Regions from separate parts of the Homo sapiens genome. Here region 2 is linked to region 1. Evidence: promoter capture Hi-C in human tissues and cell types (Jung and others, 2019). All regions are on one chromosome and are shown on one strand. Each heading gives the region's core, a stretch centred on a gene start or on the middle of the fragment in contact. The rest is flanking DNA. Distances are from core to core; before and after follow the strand shown. Region 1 holds the start of ZNF331 (zinc finger protein 331). Region 2 overlaps ZNF347 (zinc finger protein 347).

Region 1 (2,611 bases), core at 38-2,537:
GCACCATTGCACTTGAGCCTGGGCAACAAGAGCGAAACTCCGTCTCAAAACAAACAAACAAACAAACAAAAAATTATTCTCTGGAAATTCTGGGTAACGTCAGTGGATTACATCAATGTTAATCTTCTGGTTGTGGTATTATATACTACAATCACCAGCTGAGGTAACCAGGTGAAAGGTACACAAGATCTCTCAATTTTATTTCTTGTAACTACATATGAATCTAAAGTCTATCTAATTAAAAGAGAAAAAGATTTTCAGAAAAAAAGCATTTTGTGAACATACTTCAACATTGTGTACAACTATAGCTACTTCCTTGGCATAAATACCAAAAAGTGGGATTTTGAGTCAAAATGAGACTGTGGTTAAGTACCTGCAACATCCTGTAGACCCTGTGACGTTAGTACTTGGAATGAGAGCGGGACTCACGGGGCATAACTGCTACCTGTACATTGTTTACAATGCAGCAAGCAAGGGACACCGAATAGCAGCTCCGGCAGCCTGTGCTAGCGGCCTGCAGAGAATTCCAGGTGACGCTCCAGAGGGGCTAGGAGAGGATACCCTTCTGAGGACAGCCATGGCTCGCCCGGCATCACCCCACTCAAGAGGCCAGACGGGGTCCCAGCTGGGGTGACACAGCTCCTTTCCCAGTCGGGAAGGGGCGTCTGCAGGGACCAGGAAGGGCTTAGCTTGGGGCTGCCCGCTCCGGCACCGACCTGGGACGCGCCCTGAGGCCCCTGCCTGGGACCGTCCCGGACTACATTTCCCAGAGACCATCCAGGAGTACGCCGTGCTGCATGCTGGAACACGGGGCTTGGGGCTCTGGTTTCCCCCGACGGCCCCGCGTCCTCTTCTAGCCTCACCCTCTCCCGAGGCCCCAGCGTTGGGGGACTACCGGGTGCGTCTGCGGCTTTGGGAGAGTGGGAGGAGGGAAAGGGATGGGAGGGGTGCACGCACACGTGTCAGTGTGTCCGCGTGTCAGCATCTGTGCAGGCGCACGTGTGTGTCGGGCTCTGTTGTGTCTGCACATGCGTGTCGGCATCTGTGCGTGCGCACACGCCCGTCAGGGTCTGTGTGCCCGCACAGGCACGTCAACAGCTGAGCACGCTATGTATCGGGGGTCTGTGTACGCTCACATACGTGTCGGGGTCTGGGTACGTGCACATACGTGTAGGGGTCTGTGTGCACATGCGTGTCGGGCTCTGCTGCTGTCTGCGCGCTGCGGCCGCTGGGTGCGCGTGCGCATGCGCGCTGGCCTCCAGGGGGTGGCGGGACCGAGTGTGTGACGCACTTGCGTGGGAGTACGAGGCTGACGCGGCGGCCCTGTCCCCGTAACTGTGACACGGGTGCACGCGAGCGTCATTGGGGGCGATGGGGGCCGTGCTGGGTGCGCGTTTGCACCAGTGACGCAGCCGCTGCATCTCCGCCAGTCCGCGCAGGTGAGATTGGTGCGCGTGGCTCCGAGGGGAGACGGGCACGGGGCTTCTGACGGTGACGCACTTGCTGGAGAGTGTGGGGTGACACAGCCGGGCTCTCCCCATAACTGGTGACCGGGGGTGCTCCAGAGGCTTTGGGTCAACGCAGCCCGTGCCTGTGAACCTCGGCGGTGCGTCCCTGGGACTCTGCTCCGTGAGGTGCGCTCTGGGGGTTGTGCGGGGGCAGCGGTCGGGACGGGTCTCCGTGGCCCACGGATGCACCTCTGCACCGTGTGGGGTGGTGGGGCCCGTAGCATGGCCGTGCTGGGCGTTAGTGGGTATGAGGGGCGCAGATGTGTCTCAGGACAGAGTGAGCTGTGGTGAGGCTGAGCTGTGCAGACTTGTGCTGGGATGGGTGATCGGGCCTTCTGGGTGACGCAGGTGTGTGTGACAACACAACCTGTAGCTTCAGCGTCTCTGTGCTGGGATGGATGATCGGGCCTTCTGAGTGATGCAGGTGTGTGTGACAGTGCAACTTGTAGCTCCAGCGTCTCTGCTGCTTCCCCTGCCTTCACCTCCTAACCAAGCGGTACCTGCCTGAGAACAAGGGCCGCGGAGGGACGTGAGCGCCTGAGCCTCGCCTGGAAATTCACCAGCAAGAAGGCAGAAACAGCCATGAGGTGACGCTTTCAGAGCCAGAAGTGCTGTGCATGCAGGCCACCTGAGTGACAGGGGACGGTGGCCTCAGGAGTAGAATTCCTCCTGTAGAGGGACAGGTCCCTGATGTGGGAGACAGGGAGGGGGGCAGCTCCACGCGTCATCATCTCAATCGCCACAGCGTGCTCTTCAGGAATCTCCCAGAAACTCCATCTCGGGGCCTCGTATTTCTCATTGGTTTTATTAGGTATGGCAGGTGTTACCCTTCCGGTTCTGTTTTCCCCAGGCCAGCATCCTTCAGAAAAAGCATCCCCGAGGAGGAAGACGAATCGTTAAACATCTGAAAGGGTCAGGTGAGTATCCTTTTTTTTTTATATTAAATGATATGTGTTTATAAGACTTAAGACCAAACATTAAAGGTAGATGACCAAGATTTGAGTCCTGTTTCTGCCTCTTAGCTTTTTGAGCCTTCTGAAGATAGGCTTGTGAGGAGGGTGAAATGCATTAACACGCATAAAACCCATAGACGCGCACCCCTG
Region 2 (2,611 bases), core at 44-2,543, 390 kb before region 1:
ATGAGTGAGATTGCCTTCTTGGGTCAAAAGCACTCCTTTGTAATTTCCTTCAGCATCTCTGCATTGATACTCAAGGCCATGTGTATTTTTCTGGACTTCCCTGAAGGAACATCCTTCAATGTCTTGGCTTTCCTGTCTTTCCAACATCACTGTTTGGAATACTTCTCCTGTATTACTCTTCCCTTTGTGTAGTAAATCTTTCATTACAAATTCGGAAGAGAGAGCTACAAGATATAAAGATCCATAGGTTTCCAATTAATTGTAGTACGTAAACAAGTATTTTACACCGAAAAACAATATTACACCGAAAAACAATATTAAACCAAAAGCAATTCTTATATTAAACAGATTTATGAAACTTCAGAACAATAATATTCAATTTTTAGGAACACAAAGGAAAGAGGATTGTTTAATAAAGTTGATTCCATGTAATTCAAATTAATAGTATGGAAGCCTAGTTCCCAACCTACAATACTGTAGCCAGCAAAGCAATCGTTCAGTCATAAAGGAGAGAAAGTCTTCCCCAGACAAACAAAGCTAAGGGAATTTACCATGATCAGACCTGTTTTACAAGAAATGATAAAGGGAGTTCTTCAAATCCAAAGAAAATGACACGATGTAACTGTTACACTAATATTAATATCATAATCATGGTGTGCAAACCATTTGTATATTTACTAAGAGGGCTAAAAGATAAAACTATTAAAAATAAGCACAACAGTTTGTTAAGTGATAGGCAGTACACAACATAAATTGCGACATAAAAAATTCAAAATGCAGGGTGAGAAGGGAACGAACATGCACAGAGGTTTTAGTTTCTTTTTTTGCAATCAAAGTTAGTTGATATTGATTTGAGATAAATTGTTAAAAGCTATAGGATGTTTTTATATTTATTTATTTATTTTTTATTATACTTTAAGTTTTAGGGTACATGTGCACAATGTGCAGGTTAGTTACATATGTATATATGTGCCATGTTGGTGTGCTGCACCCATTAACTCGTCATTTAACATTAGGTATATCTCCTAATGCTATCCCTCCCCCCTCCCCCCACCCCACAACAGTCCCCAGAGTGTGATGTTCCCCTTCCTGTGTCCATGTGTTCTCATTGTTCAATTCCCACCTGTGAGTGAGAACATGCGGTGTTTGGTTTTTTGTCCTTGCGATAGTTTGCTGAGAATGATGGTTTCCAGCTTCATCCATGTCCCTAAAAAGGACATGAACTCATCATTTTTTATGGCTGCATAGTATTCCATGGTGTATATGTGCCACGTTTTCTTAATCCAGTCTATCATTGTTGGACATTTGGGTTGGTTCCAAGTCTTTGCCATTGTGAATAGTGCCACAATAAACATACGTGTGCATGTGTCTTTATAGCAGCATGATTTATAATCCTTTGGGTATATACCCAGTAATGGGATTGCTGGGTCAAGTGGTATTTCTAGTTCTAGATCCCTGAGGAATCGCCACACTGACTTCCACAATGGTTGAACTAGTTTACAGTCCCACCAACAGTGTAAAAGTGTTCCTATTTCTCCACATCCTCTCCAGCACCTGTTGTTTCCTGACTTTTTAATGATCGCCATTCTAACTGGTGTGAGACGTAAGCCTTATTTTATGGTCACCACAAAGTAAAAGCCTGTAATAGACATATTAATAATAAAAAGCAATGAATTAAAACATACTGCCGTTTTGTTACTTCTTTTCTAATTGTTTTCTAACTTCTCTCTTGCTTTCTTTCTTACTGTCTTCCTTTGTGTTTAAGTGATTTCTCTGGTAGTATAAGTCCTTACCTATCAATAATAACATTAAATAGAAATGGACTAAATTTTCCAATTACAAGAGAGAGGCCTGCTGAATGGATTATAAAACATACAGCTAACTATATGTTGCCTACAACAAACTCACTTCACCTATAAGGATACATGTAGACAAAAAGTGAGGGGATGGAAAAAGATATTTCATGGAACTAGAAATCAAAAAAGAGCAGTAGTAGGTATACTTAGATAAAATAGACTTTAAGTCAATAAGTGTAAAAAGAGACAAAGTCAGTATATAATGAGAAAAGGATCAACTTAGCAAAAGGACATAATAAATAAGTACACACCCAAATATGTAAAGCTAATGTTAATAAATCTAAAGGGAGAGACAGGTAGCAATACAATAATATTAGGGGACTTCAAAACACAATTTTTGGTAATGAATAGGTCATCCAGGCAGAAAACCAATAAAAAAAAAATTAGAGTTAAAATATACTGCAGACTAAATGGACCTAAAAAAAGACTTTTTAAATTTTTTTTCTATTTTAAACAGATGGGATCTCCCTATGTTGCCCAGGCTGTGGTCCATTGCCTAGTCACAGGTGAGTTCACAGTGCACTGCAGCCTTGAACTTCTGGCCTTAAGCATTCCTCTCTCCTCAGCCTCCCAAGTAGCTAAAATTACAGGTATGTTCCATGCCCTAACAGACGTTTACAGACCATTTTATCCAGCTGTTGCAAAATACATATTCTTCTCATCAGCACATGGATTATGCTTCAGGATAGATTATATGTTAAGACACCAAACAAGTCTCAATAAATTCAAAAAAGTCAAAATTGTATCTAGTATCT

The links. The method cuts DNA at HindIII sites, captures the fragments that hold promoters and counts their contacts. A contact is called where the count stands out against the background at its distance.
Region 2: a contact is called between a fragment that was not itself captured here and the fragment with the promoter of ZNF331 in region 1, in 1 of the 25 tissues and cell types used here (aorta).

What each region holds. Positions count from the first base shown.
Region 1 is chr19:53,536,858-53,539,468 of GRCh38, forward strand. It overlaps ZNF331 (zinc finger protein 331), which reads left to right and starts at 1,288. Exons shown (of 6, transcript NM_001079906.2): 1 at 1,288-1,439; 2 at 2,359-2,425. RefSeq lists enhancers at 1,016-1,532, 1,318-1,367. The HindIII fragment of the contact is 21,395 bases long and covers 1-2,063 here.
Region 2 is chr19:53,142,333-53,144,943 of GRCh38, forward strand. It overlaps ZNF347 (zinc finger protein 347), which reads right to left. Exons shown (of 5, transcript NM_032584.3): 5 at 1-224. Among named protein-coding and RNA genes, the nearest start is that of ZNF415, 11 kb to the left of the region's middle. The HindIII fragment of the contact is 4,843 bases long and covers 1-2,611 here.